Regions from separate parts of the Homo sapiens genome. Here region 1 is linked to region 2. Evidence: promoter capture Hi-C in human tissues and cell types (Jung and others, 2019). All regions are on one chromosome and are shown on one strand. Each heading gives the region's core, a stretch centred on a gene start or on the middle of the fragment in contact. The rest is flanking DNA. Distances are from core to core; before and after follow the strand shown. Region 1 has its middle 13 kb from the start of FLJ32255. Region 2 holds the start of PAIP1 (poly(A) binding protein interacting protein 1).

Region 1 (4,772 bases), core at 1,805-4,304, 550 kb before region 2:
ACATTGCACTGGAGTGTGCAGGTTCATTTCTCCAAATTTGGGACCGGATGGAAACTCTTTGGAAACCAAGTTATTTTCCAGTATCTTACAAAGAATGGACATTATTTTTATCTTTCTTTACTAAAAAAATGAAGAAGAAAAGGCCTGGTGAGGTGGCTTATGCCTGTAGAAATGTGATGCTTCCAAATTAAATGAGTGAAAGTTAAAAGCAACATGTATATTTTCCCTGAGAAACTACAAAGATCATTTAATTATACCCAATATTACTAGAGATGTGTGGCAAAATGCACTCTATTTTTACACAAGTATTTATATAATTTTGCCTCAGCAACTACAAAGATCATTTAAATTATTATACCCAATGTTACTGAAGGTGTGGGGCAAAATACACTCTAGTTTTGACAAGTATTTTATGAATTAAGTACTATATTTTCAAGAACGATATAGGAGTATCAATTAAACTTATCATACACAGTCATAATCAGAGGGTTTTATTTTTCTTTGAGGACTGTATCCTTTAAAGGCTTTCCCACATGGAAAGAATGGTGACAGACAAAACTTAAAGAGAGAAGACTTTCTAACAATAAGAAAACAATAATCACAATACATAGCCTTATCATAGTTCAGGGCAGGATCTCCTTGCAAATGAGTATAGAGACAAAATTTATACTCTATTAAAAAAATCCAAAACATTACCTTTCAAAACTCTAGGAACTTCCAAGTTGTTAATAAGGAAACTTATTATGGGACTCTATTCGATACTTCCACTTTCAAATAATTACAGAAATATTTGAAACTACTTCCCCTCCCCAATGATGAAGTATTACTCTCCAAATTTGGGGGAAGTAAAGATTTTTTTAAAAATTCCTGGCACCCTCTAAACTTTCTTCTTTCTTGCCTTTCTCAGATACTTTTTTTTTAGACAGGGCCTCGTTCTGTCACCCAGACTGGAGTGCAGTGGTGCAATCTCGGCTCACCGCAACCTACCTCCACCTCCCAGGCTCAAGTGATTCTCCTGACTCAGTCTCCCGAGTAGTTGAAATTACAGGCAAGCGCCGCCACGCCTGGCTAATTTTTATTTTATTTATTTATTTATTTATTTTATTATTATTATTTTTTGAGATGGAGTCTCGCTCTGTCGCCCAGGCTGGAGTGCAGTGGCGCGATCTCTCGGCTCACTGCAAGCTCCGCCTCCCGGGTTCACGCCATTCTCCTGCCTCAGCCTCCGGAGTAGCTGGGACTACAGGCTCCCGCCGCCGCGCCCGGATAATTTTTTGTATTTTTAGTAGAGGCGGGGTTTCACCATGTTGGCCAGGCTGCTCTTGAACTCCTGACCTCAAATGATCCACCCGCCTCGGCCTCCTAAAGTGCTGCGATTACAGGTGTGAGCCACTGCGCCCAGCCTCAGATACCTTTATTAGAAATAAAGGCCAATCAGAAATGAACCCAAAGTATTTAAGAACCATTAACGTCCCTGCTAGATGTCATTTTCATCAATTCCTCGTATGTGTGAATATGCTTTAGCCAAAGACCATCAGAAACTGAGTTTGCAGTTGAAGAAACTAGATTTGTTACTCCTCACCCAAGAACTTATCATAGAGAACCACGAGCTGTCTCAAAATGAGGGTGTTAGAAAGGACATTTTAGTGGATTCAGGCTTGTGTTTGGTGATTTGAGGTATAAAAAAAATCACTGAAAAAGAACAGTTATGTAAAGTAATTGTAATTAATATATAATGAACATTTACATTGTGCTAGAGTGTTCTAAGATCTTTCAATAGTATATAACTCAGGAAAAAAGTGGACACCATGATTAGTGTAATATGCCACTGAGTTTACTGAAAAGGAATATGAAGCATAAGATTTCAGTTTACTTCTGAAATGTTACACCTTATAGTGTATAAGTGATGGAGACCTGGTTTCCTAGGTCTTCACCACCAAGGTATACAGGTCTAGTCGCCTTGGCTTTACAGTCTTTAGGTAATCATTGCCTACCTAAGCTGCCCCACTCACATTTCAACTAGCCAACATTTCTGCCAACCCACCCTCCAGAACAGCAATTTGTAGAGCTGGGGACTACTGTACCACTTCCCAGGCACTTGTCAGAGCCCAGGAAGAACTTGGAAAGATAAAAGCTTTTGGCCAAAGACAGTCCTACCAAGTATGTGCTTGGGTTGAGGAATCAAGGAATGTAAGTGGGAGGAGTCCTGGCTTCTTTCCTACCTGCACTCCTTACCCAGCAACAGACCTCTGACTTGGTCTTGATCCTAAAACAACAACAACCAAACAAAACAAAAGAAACAAAAGGCATTTGATGTTTCTCTATTATTTTATTGAGAAAGACAACCAAACGTTGATAAAGAATAGTGAAGGCAAACTTTTTTAAAGAACATGGATAGACATTATTATTATTATTATTATTGAGACGGAGTCTTGCTCTGTTGCCAGGCTGGAGTGCAGTGGCAGGATCTCGGCTCACTGCAGTCCTCCCGGTTCAAGCTATTCTCCTGCCTTAACCTCCCAAGTAGCTCGGACTACAGGCGCGCGCCACCACGCCCGGCTAATTTTTGTACTGTTAGTAGAGACGAGGTTTCACCATGTTGGCCAGGGTGGTCTCGATCTCCTGACCTCGTGATCCACCCTCCTCGGCCTTCCAAAGTGCTGGGATTACAGGTGTGAGCCACCGCACCCGGCCCGGATAGACATTATTGTAAGTGATAATTATTTCCAAAAGGATGATCCAGTAGAAGCGCTAAAATCTCAGGTAATCTAGTCCCCGAAATCCCTGGATAATGCGGCCCGGAGAGTGGGGAGAAGTAAACATCAATTCTTCCCCAGGAGGGAGGAGAAAGCCAAGTGCAGCATCCGCGGACGTGGCACTGCAAAGGACGTCTTTCCTAAATATCCAACCCTCGGGGTTCTTCCTTTGCAGGAGTCTGTTCTTTTTGCCCCGTAGCCGAACCTAGGCAGGCAGCGTGGGGTGGAGTTGGCAAACGTCCTGCAACCCATGAAGAGCCGCTATGGTACCACTAGCGGTTCTAGGACCCAAAAACTAACGAAACTGCTCAGGAGAAGCTGCAGGCTTGACCCACCAGAGGTGCTGCCACCGAGATCAATTCTGCTCGGACGAATGAGCGGTGCTATGACTCAGAAAGTGCCAGTCCGAGGAACCAGGGATACTGGGACATAGTGAAAGGAGTTAGCCAGCTTTAGGGAGACTGTAAGGGAAGGGTCCCCAGAGAACCTCCGACTGGTGTTTTGTGCAGATAAGGGAACTTGCACAAGGGACTTGCCTAAGCATGCCTGCTGCGGATTAAGAGCGCGCATGCGCACTGGGGGAATGGGATGGAGCCACCCGGGATTCTCGCCTTATACAAACAGGGAACCCAGCCTCCTTAGCTTTCATATAAAAGCCTTTGTATTCAGCCGTTAAGGAGCAACCGGCAACCTGCTTTCAGGACCCTTGTTTTTTATGAGAGCTTTCGTTTACGCTTAATAAATTCTACTCCACTCACTCTTCGATATCCGCGTGCCCACTTCCTCCTGATCGTGAGACAAGGACCCGGATATAGCTGAGCTTAGAAGCAAAAATCCTGCATCAATAGCAAATGCGGACACTGAACGACTAGCGGAGTACCCAGCGGCAAACTTTAGTTTTTGGTGCAGTTAAGGTATTGCCACTAAGAAATCGTCGTCTCTGAGAAATATCGAGGCTTGGAAGGTTGTACAGTGCTTCCACCGAGAAAGCACCTACCCAATGAAACGCCTGTGGCAGAAAAACCGAGCCCAAGCCCTTCCAGCGAAAGTGCTGAAAGAGCGCCTCCTCGGCCAATCACTGGGCTGAGACCGTGAGACAGCCAGCCCGGGGAAAGTGGCGGCGCTAGGAGAGGGGAAGCGTTACCACAAAGCACTTCTGAGTCTTGTGAACAAGAAACGTTCTGGGTTGTTTTGTTTTTGAGAAGGAGCCTCGCTCTGTCACCCAGGCTGGAGTTCAGTGGCGCAATCTCGTCTCATTGCAACCTCCGCCACCTGGGTTCAAGCATACTGCCTCAGCCTCCCGAGTAACTGGGATTGCAGGCACGCGCCACCACGGCCAGCTAATTATTGTATTTTTAGTACAGACGGGGTTTCACCCGCTGGCCAGGCTGGTCTCGAACTTCTGACCTCGAGTGATCCACCCGCCTCAGCCTCCCTAAGTGCTAGGATTACAGGCGTGAGCCACAGCGCCCCGCCGAAACGTTCTGTTGTGTTCAGCGCTTCCAGCGGTGCAGCAGCCGAGAAAACACTGAGTCTCCGCTATTGGCGAAAGTGCTGATGCGAAACTGCTGGCTCGACATAGGCACAGAGCCGCGGAAGAGAACCCTAGAGACCAGGCACCAGCTCTGCTCCCCGACTCACGGGAGAAAGCTAGTTAGTAGGAAGCTGAGACATGATACTCAAAATCAGTAGAAGAAATTATGCCACATTTACTCTCCTGGGGAAGGCAGTGGGTAAGAAAAAATAAAATACATAACATTTACATAAAAAATAAAATAAATTTTTAAAGCAAACAGAAATGAAAATAAAATACACCAGTAACCTCGCTCCCAGAAAAAGACACATCAAAAAAAATTTTTTTGAGTATACAAAACATACAAATAACCCTACAAAGAAATTGCAGTGTTGAACGATGCGATCCTACGGCTATATTTGTATTAGCACTAAACCTGTGCCTCTTGCGCCTATTCGAAAATTCCTCGGATTAAGAAGAAACAGCCATGGCTAAACCGGTAT
Region 2 (4,250 bases), core at 181-2,680:
AACTACAAAATGTATTTCTGAATCAGCTTTGTTTCCTTCTGAGTTCAATAATTCAAAACATTCACAATAAAAAAATTTTTTTACGTGTAGTACAGAAAGCACAAACATACTCTGATTAACAAAGTAACAACCACATTATTCCAGTAAATTAACCCAGAGTTGTAGGAAAAAGGGTGTACTTACTGTGTAACTGGAAGAATAACCTGAAGGGTAAAATTCAGGGGCATTCACAGACAGCTTAGACATTAATACAGGAGCTACAACCACCTGGGGCTTAGCCATTGCTGACTCCGAGTTCTGCTGTGGGATTTTATCCTGTGAACTAGGTGGAGCTCTCAGGGGCCTCGTTTGCTCTGCAAAAGAAAAAAAAACGGGGCGTCAGATGCATTCTTTCCTTTGTACAGCAACTTGCTATATACTGAAAAACCATCTGAAAAGCGTCTGTTTTTAAGAGTTAAACAGGAACCATCATGAAATTTATGGTTATCGCCGGAATGTGTACAGACAGCCTACAAAAAGGAACAATAGACTTGCTGTGACTCCGTTATGGGCATACCTGCCTCTCAAATGAGTGCTTGCGAGCTTTTTTCCTCTCTGTCGTTTTAAAGGGGTCGGTGGAAAAGAGGTGGTTACTCGCTAGGGTCTCGCTTTAGAGGGCTGCTGAGGGGAGGCGATTTTTACTTCCTCCCGGGACCCCGAACTCCGAGACCGCGCACCCGGCCCCTCCCCCCAGCCAGGCGCACAAAGGATTCCAGCAGACACCTTCCAAACCCGGTTCCGGGCCCGTCCCTACCCGGTCACGCGGCCCTCTCGGGGAATGCTTTCGGGGAACCGGGGGTGGGGACCGCAGACAGCGCGTCGGGCCTCGGCACGCGTGGAGGGCCGTGGGGAAGCGTTCGCCAAGGAGGACTGGGGCCCTTAGAGCTGCTCCGTACCTGGGAGCGCCCCGGGCCGGGAAGGCCGCTGGGGGCTGGCGGGGACCTCGCACTGGGCCCCTGGCGGCGGGGTCGTCCTGGGCTGGCGCAGCGGCGGTGGCTGCAGGAAGCCCGGGGCTTTGGGTTGCGGCGGCTGGTGCCGCGCCCGCTCAGCAGGCCCCGCTCCGTTCGGGAAACCGCCGCCCTCAGGCCCGCCCCCTCCGCGGCCCAGGCCCCGGCTCCGGCCCCGACCAGCACCTGGGGCCCGATCGAAACCGTCCGACATGCTCCTCCTCCTCCGCCTCCTCCTCCAGGGGCCGCTGCCGCTGCGCTCGCGATAGGACGCGGGGGGAAGGCGCCGCGGGTCGGCTATAGCCGCCGCGCCTCACTCGGGCCTCATGGAGGAGGAGGGCGGCGGGCCCCGGCTCGGCTGCTCGGTGCTTCTGGCGGAGCGGACGGCAGCCCGAGCACCCGCCGCTCCAGAGCGCCCGCCCCGCTCGGCTACCCTCGGCTTTCCAGTTCTCCCCCAAAACCCGGCTCCCCGCCTTCGGCGCGGCAGGGGCGCAGGCGGGTCACAGCGGCCCCCTGCGGCCCGGAGGCCCGGGACGCGCCCGCGAGGATCCTCCAGTTCGCGGCTGGCCGGCCGCCGGGCCCAGCAGGCCGCCCGCCGAGTGGCGTCTTGGCCACCTGCCGGCCCGCAGCCAGGCTCGGGCAGGGGCATCTCGGTTCCGGGGCCAGGCTGGGGGGGATGAGGGATGAGGGGTGAGGGGGACGCTTACCACAGGCAGGCCCGACCTACTCGGTAGTTCTCAGGAGAGACGTGCGAGACCGACAGTTGACGCCCGGGAAATAAAAACACGGGGGGAGGGGGCGTGGACCCTGCGCCAGGGTTCGCTGGCGCACAGGTGTGTTCAATGACTCGGCTCCGGCCGAGACCCGCGGACTGCTGAGGAGTGGTCCCTGGGAGACTGTCACCTGCTCCGTTAGCATCGGGGGAAGGGAGTAGAAACGGAATCAAAATATGTGTCCCCTCTTTAATTCACCCTAGGTGTTTACCACAGTAGGTCACACCTACGTTTAACAAGCTTCGTTCTCTTCCCGTTAACCTTCCCCTCCAGAAATTTCAAGAAAATGTGCTACCTTTCAGTGTAACTCTGCCCTCTTTTTCATCTTGCATCAGTGCTGTCCAATGAAAATATAATGCGAGCCACAAATGCAAGCCACTTATGTAATTTTACATTTTGGAGAAGCCACATTAAATGAGTGAAAAGAAACAGGTGTGGCCAGGCGCAGTGGCTCACGCCTGTAATCCCAGCACTTTGGGAGGCCGAGGGGGGCGGATCACCTGAGGTCGGGAGTTCGAGACCAGCCAGACCAACATGGAGAAACCCCGTCTCTACTAAAAATACAAAGTTAGCCGGGCGTGGTGGCACATGCCTGTAATCCTAGCTATTCTGGAGGCTGAGGCAGGAGAATCGCTTGAACGCAGGAGGCAGAGGTTGCAGTGAGCCGAGATCGTACCGTTGCACTCCAGCCTGGGCAACAAGAGCCAAACTCTGTCTCAAAAAACAAAACAAAACAAAACAAAAACCAGGTGAAATTAATTTAAATTTATTTAATCCATTATGTTCAAAATGGTTTTTTAACATGCGATTTAAAATATTAAATATTTTCTCTGTTTTTTAGATACTAGTTGAAATCCAGTGTATATTTTACACTTATGGCACATCTTAGTCGGGATTGGCACATTTCAAGGGCTCAAGAGCCACATGTGGCTAGTGGCTACTGCGTTGCACAGCACAATTCTAGATTTTATTAATATGTAAATTGTTGTTTTTGTCAGGCCTGACAGTATTAATGCCAAATAAAGGATAGATGAATATAAGTAACGACAAGGAAGGAAAAATTGATTTCTTTACTGTTGGATTGATCCATCTCCATAAATTCTGATTTTAGCCTTTTGTTTTAAGCAGGGTTTCATGTTTTTCTATCTTTTCATCTTAAGAATCATTTCAATTAGGGACACAAACTCTTGTTAACCGTTTTCTCTTCTCATTAATAAAGAAAACAATGTCTTCCCCTAAACGAATGAGAAAATGGCTTCACCGAGGGCAATCATGAATAAATGGTTCATGCTATTGATGTTAGGCAAAATAATGAAGTCAGGGAAGGAAGCCAGCAGTACGTGTGGCTCTTCGGTGTACGGAAAGTTTAGGATTCAGTCTGCCAGAGCTTAGTTGGGATTCCACTCTTGACTATTGCTGTCTGTGTGATTTTGAGTAAGTAAGGGGTTTAGCTTCTCTGAGCCTCACTTTCCTCATCTGTAAAATAATAACTGTGTGGTAACACTCAGCATATATTGCAGAGACAAGATTACAATTTAAAAATTACAATTTTAATATTTTCAAATTCATTATTGTATGTGGTCACCAGTCACTTCTTGCCTGGACTTTTTTATCATACAGGAAAGACCCATAAACTATGCTAAAAAACTAACAATGAGTTATGTTCCACTGAAGTAGATGCCCCAACTCTGCCCCAAGCTTTTGTTTGCACTCACCACCTTTTCATTTCCCCTTAAAACTTTTATGATGAACAGCACCTTTTCTAACAACTGGGACTTTCCCATGTGAAGATAAGGCCATTCTGCATCCATGGTGATGTCACGACATCTTCACACCCTCTTGTTAGGAAAATTAGGTAAGATATCCTTTGCCTTCTCTGTATTTGTTACTGTATAACTTTTGCCCTATTCTTATAATGTGTGGATGGTGGACTTGGAGATAACACGAATGGATTTTGCATCATGATAATAAAAATATCTAATATTTATTATGCGTCAGTCACCTTTTAAGAGCTTTTATTTTATCATTTTATTTTATCCTCATATCCTGTGAGATAGACATTCCAATATTTTCACTTTACATAAAAGGTGCCAAGATACCGCAAGGGCTCAGATCCATCTTGGGACTGTTTTAGAGCTAACTGGCAGGTATTGCAAAATGCATAGACAGAAACACATGAACGTGTGAACACCATGTGGAACTCCCTAAAGAGAATCATCAAAGTGCTCCTCATCCACGTGTATGCCTTTTTTATTAATTTATGGTGAAAGGAGAGTAGAACTAAATTTGGACAAATTGGAAAATATGTTGTAATATGGAAAAGGACCTGCTGTGAACTATGAAAAAAATGTTTCCTTAAACTGTACTTGAAAGGCATTCTCCAGTAAGACTTCCCAAGCTGCCTAATCTTAGATTCTCTCCCTTGTGATAAGTATACCCTGGGAAAACTGTCTTGGTACTTAGCATGCCAGATTGTTATCGTTAGTATTTG

The links. The method cuts DNA at HindIII sites, captures the fragments that hold promoters and counts their contacts. A contact is called where the count stands out against the background at its distance.
Region 1: a contact is called between a fragment that was not itself captured here and the fragment with the promoter of PAIP1 in region 2, in 1 of the 25 tissues and cell types used here (lymphoblastoid cells).

The regions. Positions count from the first base shown.
Region 1 is chr5:43,004,424-43,009,195 of GRCh38, forward strand. No RefSeq gene overlaps it. Among named protein-coding and RNA genes, the nearest start is that of FLJ32255, 13 kb to the left of the region's middle. RefSeq lists enhancers at 2,906-3,758, 3,244-3,293 and a silencer at 3,734-3,823. The HindIII fragment of the contact is 7,081 bases long and covers 1-4,772 here.
Region 2 is chr5:43,555,647-43,559,896 of GRCh38, forward strand. PAIP1 (poly(A) binding protein interacting protein 1) reads right to left here and starts at 1,431. Exons shown (of 11, transcript NM_006451.5): 1 at 936-1,431; 2 at 184-353. The coding sequence starts at 1,200. RefSeq lists a silencer at 867-1,726. The HindIII fragment of the contact is 2,914 bases long and covers 988-3,901 here.